Regions from separate parts of the Homo sapiens genome. Here region 2 is linked to region 1. The links are contacts of gene promoters, found by promoter capture Hi-C in blood cells and fetal thymus (Javierre and others, 2016). All regions are on one chromosome and are shown on one strand. The core of a region is centred on a gene start or on the middle of the fragment in contact, and the rest is flanking DNA. Distances in the headings are between cores, read along the strand shown. Region 1 holds the start of KCND2 (potassium voltage-gated channel subfamily D member 2). Region 2 has its middle 27 kb from the start of LINC02476.

Region 1 (4,589 bases), core at 607-3,106:
TTGGGGCTTTTGTGAGTTAAGCTCCTACTTTTACATTTGTAAGCATTCAGTTTCCCACACAGTTTTAAAGGCTCTATTTAGGTTCCTCGCCCCATCTTTACAGGAAAGCATGCCATTATTGGCATTGATTAAATATTCATGGCGCTCCACCCTCTGGATTCCATGCCCAGCACCTGTCATAGTGCCACCTTACTGTTTGGACTAACGAGGGGTTGGTTTTCTTATATTAATTGGTAGTAAGCCCCTCATTTCCATTTTCCAGGTAACATGCTTGTGTGTTTGTTTTCAGGTATGCAGGCTATATAGATTGGTTAACAAGCATCTTTCACTTAAACAAATAGATAAAGAGCAGGTGTCTTCAGTTCCTTGTCCTCAAACTTAAATGGTGCATTAGCTCTGACTTCATTACTACTGACACAGGATTCCTTAAATCTCTATTCTGTAAACAAATAAACAAACAAAAAATACCCTTTTATCTCTACAGAAAATCCTGTACATGATAAGGATATTTTAAATTCTCTGGTTATTTTCTATACTCATTTTTTAGTTTATATATTTTCTTTGACGTATCCCATTTCAAATTTTCAAGGTTGACACATCATGCCTGTAATCTCTAGGGCTTAAAAGTCAATTTCCGTAAAGTACAACACACAGTCCACTTATTTTACAAACCAAGGGCAGTCAAACCAAGCCATGAAAAGTAATTTTTAGGTAGAAATTAGGCTACTATTCTTCATCAATACAGATGAAGCCTCATTATTGCCAAAGATCTTAATTACTATGATGATGATGATTCAGTAATCTAGATTTAATTTTCAAAGGAATTTCAAAAGGAAACTCTCCACATCTCATCCCACAACTATCCAAATGCAGACTCAAGCCTAAGTAGTATATGTCACATAAACACAAAAAAGGTGGGTGGCAGCGAAGGGGTTTGGGGATGTTTATGTGATCTGACTCTCTGTTGGACCAGTTAATTTTGATCCTTCACCTTCCTAAAGCATCCAAACCTTAGGTGCAGATTTAACTTCTCGCCATCCACGCCATCTAGTGGCTTGTATGTGTTACGTTTGGTTTTAAGGATGATTCCTAATGACTCGGGGGCGGGGTACGCGAAAAACAAAAAGGTTGGTAGCGACAATTTTCCTGTGTCTCTCTACCTCAGTAACCCCTCATACGAACACCTTTAACTCTTTTAACTATTTTAAATATGCGCAGTGATGCGCAGAGAGGATGAAGGGGACGCAAACTTTCAGAGACGCACGCCCCTTGACGATGACATTTAGAAAAGGGCTCCACATCCCTGTTATTCGTAAAGGACGGGAAAAGGAGTTGTGTCAAGACCTCGATCGAGGAGAGTCTCTGATTTTTTGGCAAGTTGGACAGATGGCATATCAATCCCTGCAACGTTAACAATCTGGTTTTGAAAATAAATAAAAACAGAAAGAGGAAATGCACTTAAAAATTCCGCGTCGGAGCTTTGCGGGTCTTGCCTTCCAGTCGCCCCCAGAAGACAACCAATTCCTGCGCATTCCGCTCCGCTCACCCTCCTTCCCAGCTTCTCTCGCTCTCTTTCCCCCCATTTTCCCACGCTCGCCTTGAACCGGGACTCGAGAGGCAGAAGCAAGGCACGGGTCCCCTTTCTCCTCTCCTCCACCAAACCACCGCAGCCCAGCACGTGAAGCTTCCCTTTGTTCATCCGAGGCTCGCTTTTCTCCCCAGCAGATCCACCTGGATGCTCTCCCTCGGTGACATTTTGCGCCGGGGTTGGTGGGTGGCTGGGGTGGAGCGAGAGGAGCCCGAGGGGGCGGGGGCGGAGAAAGGTCAAGCCGAGGGAAAGGCAGGAGACGCCTTTCCTAACCTGCGTGGCGGGGCGTGCGCGCGGTTATTTATTTATTTTCTCCTTATTTATTGATCGCACTAGCAGAGCAGCGCGGGGAGCCCGGGGAGATGCAGGACCACCCACTGGCGGGGAAGCAGCTAGCAGCCCTCCCGCGCCCCCGCGCTGCCGAGCGCCTTCTGCCTCCGCGCTCGGACGAGAGCCCGTGCCGGCCCCGGCCCCGGCCCCACCGCGCCAACGCCGCCCGCCCGGCCGCCCCGCAGCCCCGCCGCCCCGCAGCCCCGCACCGCGCTGGCCAGGCTCCCGCGACAGTGGCCCCGCAGTAAGTTGGCAGGAGCGAGTCCCCTCCGTTCTCGCCTCCCCCGCACCTTTTGAACTTGTTGCTGCTGCTCTGCTCGCCTGCGCCTGGCTTTTGGAAGGTGAAAAGGAGGAGGGAGGCACGGAGGGATGGGGGAAGGGAAAGAAGAGCTCGCTTGAGCTTTATTTATGCTCTCTCGGCGCATCGGATTCGGCTGCTCGCGAGCTGCTTTCTCTCCTCTTCCCTTTCCGGGTGCACGGCGAGGAGAAAGTCTCTATGCAACTAAGCCCCGGCGCGCACTTGGCCAGGTATGTACCGCGGGAGCGGCGCGTTCTGCGCGGAAGCAGATGCTGCTGCCGCCACGGCGGCGGCGGCTGCCAGCTCCTGAGCTCTGTAACTGTCACACTGCACCTGAGCTGAACTTGAAAAGAGAGTGAAGGGGCGATTGGGCGAACGCTTTTGGCAGACACAGAGGGTGTTTGTAGACGTGGGGGAGGAGAATCTCTATTAACGCCCCCCACCGTAACCACTGCACATCACCTCCATCTCTGCAAATACAGCCCGAGGAGTAGAGGCAGCAGCAGCTGGACCCCCAAAGAGAGACGTGGGGCAGCGGCTGTGACCGCATCTCCTGAGCTACAACAACAGGTCGCCTTTTTGAGACTCCTTTGGCGGGAAGGGCTACTTGGAAAGGAAGGTTTGAAAGAGTGAGAAGGGTAGGTGTAAGGGTTCCCTAATTCGTCGAAAGAATTCTATTGGGTGACTCTCGTTCGTCTTCTCTATCCTACACTCCACATACTGACCCTATATTATCCAGACTGTGCCGGGGAGAAATCAAAAACACCTGTTTGAAGAAACGGCTGCACCTGTGTGCTTATTTGTGCCAGAGGGTGGCCTAGCCCACCTGCAGGAAGAGATTTGGCTGGGTTCTGTTGAGGGTGATTGTTAGGACGTTGTATTTTGTTGCCATTATTCCAAATACCTGTCTTGGAGGGAAAGTTGCCCTTCTGAGAACTGTGACTTTACCAGGAGCCCTATCTTGGAATAAGAGTTACACCTCTGGACCACGTTTCTCACTAGTACTTTGCTTGACTGGAGGAAGTGGGTGACTTTTGGCTGCTTCGGTGACCCATTGTAGACGCCTCGTTACCCTTCTTCCTTCCGCTTCAAGTAATCATGGCGGCGGGGGTGGCAGCGTGGCTGCCTTTTGCAAGGGCAGCGGCTATCGGGTGGATGCCTGTGGCCTCGGGGCCTATGCCGGCTCCCCCGAGGCAGGAGAGGAAAAGGACCCAAGATGCTCTCATTGTGCTGAATGTGAGTGGCACCCGCTTCCAGACGTGGCAGGACACCCTGGAACGTTACCCAGACACTCTACTGGGCAGTTCTGAGAGGGACTTTTTCTACCACCCAGAAACTCAGCAGTATTTCTTTGACCGTGACCCAGACATCTTCCGCCACATCCTGAATTTCTACCGCACTGGGAAGCTCCACTATCCTCGCCACGAGTGCATCTCTGCTTACGATGAAGAACTGGCCTTCTTTGGCCTCATCCCGGAAATCATCGGCGACTGCTGTTATGAGGAGTACAAGGATCGCAGGCGAGAGAACGCCGAGCGCCTGCAGGACGACGCGGATACCGACACCGCTGGGGAGAGCGCCTTGCCCACCATGACTGCAAGGCAGAGGGTCTGGAGGGCCTTCGAGAACCCCCACACCAGCACGATGGCCCTGGTGTTCTACTATGTCACGGGGTTTTTCATTGCCGTCTCTGTCATCGCGAATGTGGTGGAAACAGTGCCGTGCGGATCAAGCCCAGGTCACATTAAAGAACTGCCCTGTGGAGAGCGGTATGCTGTGGCCTTCTTCTGCTTGGACACGGCCTGCGTCATGATCTTCACAGTTGAGTATTTGCTTCGCCTGGCTGCAGCGCCTAGTCGTTACCGTTTTGTGCGTAGTGTCATGAGTATCATCGACGTGGTGGCCATCCTGCCTTATTACATTGGGCTGGTGATGACAGACAATGAGGACGTCAGCGGAGCCTTTGTCACACTCCGAGTCTTCCGGGTCTTCAGGATCTTTAAGTTTTCCCGCCACTCTCAAGGCCTGCGCATCCTGGGGTACACACTGAAGAGTTGTGCCTCAGAATTGGGCTTCTTGCTTTTCTCGCTCACCATGGCTATCATCATCTTCGCTACAGTTATGTTCTACGCAGAGAAGGGGTCTTCGGCTAGCAAGTTCACCAGCATCCCTGCAGCCTTCTGGTATACCATCGTCACCATGACAACACTAGGGTAGGTGCCATAATGGGAAATGGGATGGAGGTTGGGTATGGGTGAGGCGATTGTGGACCCATCGAGGTTACATGGTAACTCCGGGGAAATCATTTGTTTTCTTTCCTGAGTTTAGGAAAGCATTATCTAAATGGTTTGGCAAAACTCTTTTCATCTGTGA
Region 2 (4,304 bases), core at 113-2,612, 340 kb before region 1:
TAAAAACATGCCATATAGATTAATTTGCAGAATTATTGTAATGTTAATATATCTAGGCCGTTGTCTAGACTAATTAAAAAAAATGAGGGGGACAAAAGGAAATTTAAATTAGCTAGAATAACAGAAATGTAACAATAATGATTATGTCCAGTTTGATTAAATCTTGAAAAATTCAACTTAGTTTGCTTGTTTGTTAGATTTATTACTAAGTTATACAAGGCAGTAAAGGGTATTAGAAAATAACTTAATTCTATCATATGCCTAATTATATTAGCTACTCTTATCCACTATATAATGATTAATATTCACTGATAGTTGTTTTAGATTAATGACTAAGTGAATTTATGTCTGTTCAACATAATCGATGCTATACAACACATAACATTTATGTTAACATTTGAATCATATTAATAGTTATCAATGGAATTAATAGCATTTTTCTTATAATTAGAACATGCAAAAGCTCCTTCCTTGCTTATAGGAAAGCATTATCAAACCAATAGCTTGTCATTAACAATGTTAAATATATAAAATATTAATAATATATAGCAAATTGTTTACATGATAATTTTTTTTCATTTGAAGCAACATAGTGTTTGCCATTTGAATGATATTAAAATACAAAAAATGCTAAAAATAAGCAGTATAAAAAAGGTTTGTACTTAAGGAAAAATGCAAAATTTGAAAAATGCTGTTTCAGGCAAAGATTGGGATAAAGAAAAGGATGAAAAATATATAAGCTAAAATCTAGAAATCCCTTGGCAAAGAAAGACAGGCTCAATATTTAAATAAATCAGGAATAAACACAACTTGTCACAAACAAGTGACAAGGATAGAATTCAGCAAAAAATTTTCATTATGTCTAAAAAAATAATAAATACAGTCTAATAATTTAAGAGCATATTTCAGTCCTTCTTAAGCTTTAGTCAAATACATATGGTTTTAAGTGTCTTCTTGGTTTTACATTCAGAAGCACTTCTCTTCTATAAAACATGCTTGTTTATGCATATAAATACATATTTTTAAGAACTTATGGCGACATGTGTTCAAATATCGAATAGTTAATATATACATATATTTCAAAAAGAATTGCACTGAGAGATTTAAATTACTTTAAAATCGTCATGCTTACTGGAAGTATTGGGCATTTAAGTCAATCTGTAATTTTTTATGGTAATATAATTAGTATAGAAAGTTTTTAGGTGCAATGAGAACTTGTATTGAAGAGCACTATAATATAATAAGGTGTCTTTTCACCTATGTATTTAATACCATGTGCATGAGTTATATATTTAATGTCATATGCATATCGGTTTTACTATCTATTTGAAAAATAATTATGCTTTTAGGTGGCATATTTGCCAAGATTCTTTTCATTTTGGCATTTCTAATCATCCTGGAGTTTTTAATGTATAAAAATTATTTTTCTTTCATGTTGTAGATTACATTCAAATGGTATCTTGAACTAAATTATTAACAATAATGGGCATTTATGGAGATATCACTCATACATGAAATAAAATAGATTATTTTAGTCTTGCCATATCAGCACTGGTACTTATTCAAAACCATTATGCTTTTTCCTCCTATTAAAATTGATTACTTTGAATTTGAAATTGAGTATTTAAAGACTTAAAGAGGAAGGGCAGCAATATTCTTGATTATGCCACGGGGTGAGGGATTCAGTCCTGAAGGAAAATACTGAAGTTTCTCTATAGTTAATATCTCATCATGGAAAGTAAAAGCACTTGAAATTTTTGGACCAGGATGCAGAGAAACACAAAACATTTGCCAAAGATATAAGCAAAGCTTATTACAAGGTTGGGTTCATTGATAGTATTCACATTAATTTCTGCTGCAGAAAATAAGAGTGTCTTGAGAGCAAGGGCAAAGTTGCCTCATAAGGAGTTTTTCTTTTATTGTGTGAAAACTGCTTCAATACTCAAAGCTTAAGGGCATTTTGCTCTGGCATCACTTTGAAAATGCTTCCTTCTGCTTCAGTTACCAGAGGACGCCTAAGCTGATCTTGAAAGTGTTTACAGACATTGTTCTCATGTTCACAATTTATCAAATGCTTTTGGTGCATTACTAGAGATCTAGGCAACCTTTCAGTGCAAAGGACCATGAAACTACTCTTTCCCTAAGTTTTATAATAGCTTCATTATCTTTATTTAATGTTTGTGTAACTAATGAACCCCTAAAAATAAAACCATAAAATAGCATGATTGATCATTTGACTTAATGAGTTAATATAACAGAGATTATAGATCCAAATGAAGATTGCAGTTTTGCCAATAACTTCTAAAGAATTTTTGAAGTGATCTTCAAATCATGTCAAATATCCTTTATCCATCTTTATTGGTGGTAAATTTTGCTTTTGGAAAGAGTTGCACTAAATTAGGGGTCAAACTAGTGAATAAGTAAACAATTAAATAATTACATTTCAGTGAAAAAAATAGATTATAAGCTAAGAGGTGTATTTCCATATCTGTTGCAGGTCTGTATTCTGTCGCTGAAGAGAGTGAGGATAATTCAGATGACCCTGAGCGCCAAACAACTCAACGGTGTAAAAATAAGGCACAACCCCTGGAACTTTATAATACAAGTCATAACACAAATGAGACCTGGGTCATAAAGACCCAAAAGGAAATCAAAGAGTAGTCACAGCCCTGTGTTTGTTGCCAAATAATGTGTAAACCTTCTATTAAAAATGCTCAGTGAGTAGTTGTATTGAAATGAATTGGATTGAGACAAAACAGTATTTTCTCTCCAGAGAGAAAATTAGTATTGATTCACTTTCTCCTTGAATTATTTTCTATTAAGAAATGTATAGACAAATAAGATAAATTATCTCTTTTTGCTTATAAAATATTGTATTGGAACTCCTCATCCAGATGAATACTAAGGGGATCTTTCATAGTTCTTAAGATAAAGATTATTTTCACTCTCTAGGTTTCCACGGTATTCATTTGGGTCTATTTATGTCATTAGAGTACCCTTCTTGTTTTTACCCAAAGTCCGTATCATAAATGACTGTTAGATGTTCTGTGAAGAATACCACAAGATGGCAGTATTTCGGAAATGAATCCTTAGATTACTTCTGTATCCTATCTAAAATAACATAATAGCTTTGGTTATATTTTTAGGGACTAAAAATATTCAGTTGTCATTTCAAGTGATTAAGAATTAATGATAGTATAAAATCTGTTTAGTAATAAGTTGTTTCCTTTAAGTAATATAACTATCAGTTTGATTGTTCCAAAACATTAGTAAGCTTCATCAACATATAAATGAGTTGAAGCTAGAGAATTGTCAGTAGATTCATAAATCTCATAATTGCTTACATGTTGGTCTATAACTATAACCATACTTTTAAATTGTTTGAAAAAATAACTCATCCTAAAAGACGTCAATTATATTTTGTTTCTGCATGATTGTTTAATAACCAGTTTTAGAACAAGAAATATAAATTAGCAATTACACATATTAAGTACATCATTTATATTTTTCAAAACAGTTCAGGTTTGGATATCATCGAGCTTCTCAATTTTAATTACTCTCATAAAACTCCAAAATGTTGCTTTTAAAAGAGAATATGGTTTTAACCAAAGAAAATGCTTTCATTTCAGATTTATAAGTATGTAAAATGCAGAGGGTAGAAGGCAGAAGGGTAGCAAATAGCTTTGAAATAAAAACTGTTATTCTCTTAATGCCTGATTTTAATTTCCAATTATCTGCTCAAAATTTTTAGAAAAAAATATTGCTACAGAATAGTCTAATAGTTGATAGAGCTACATCTGGGTGATGCTAATTATTTTTCTGGTGCCAAGACTCCTAGCTGTTGAAAAGTTACCAAAACTCATGGAAATATAATCCCAATATTTTAAATATTGTAAAAGTAGTACCTGTTTCTTAATACCCATCAATATTTAATAGAATATTTCATAATGCAGAACTTGACTTAGGAAGAAAACAAACCCCAAAATTTCTATTTGTCAGTGAAAGCTATTTTTAACCAAAGAAAAGAGAAGATATAAAAATGTATTTTCTAAAATAGTATTGCCACTGAGTTATAACAACTTGAATAAATTTCATTGAATAAACTGTAAACTATTTTGTGATGTCTTGCCAGAGGTAGTACTGTGTTTCTTTTGTTTGTTTGTTTCAATTACTTTACCTCTCTGTTTGCATTAGTTATAATTATCGATATAAATACATGTTAAAAGTTTCAATTTTGAGTACAGCTGTGTAATCTGCTGCAATGTTAACCCAAGTACAGAGTTTGCATGCTTGCTAGGGTTTTG

Evidence for each region. Contacts are between HindIII fragments. The CHiCAGO score rates a contact against its expected background, and 5 or more counts as called.
Region 2: a fragment that was not itself captured here is called in contact with the fragment with the promoter of KCND2 in region 1 in 3 of 17 cell types (megakaryocytes, M2 macrophages and M0 macrophages); the score reaches 7.1 in megakaryocytes.

What each region holds. Positions count from the first base shown.
Region 1 is chr7:120,271,319-120,275,907 of GRCh38, forward strand. KCND2 (potassium voltage-gated channel subfamily D member 2) reads left to right here and starts at 1,857. Exons shown (of 6, transcript NM_012281.3): 1 at 1,857-4,429. The coding sequence starts at 3,315. RefSeq lists silencers at 944-1,043, 1,963-2,112 and an enhancer at 2,553-2,622. The HindIII fragment of the contact is 3,977 bases long and covers 1,683-4,589 here.
Region 2 is chr7:119,932,555-119,936,858 of GRCh38, forward strand. No RefSeq gene overlaps it. Among named protein-coding and RNA genes, the nearest start is that of LINC02476, 27 kb to the left of the region's middle. The HindIII fragment of the contact is 889 bases long and covers 919-1,807 here.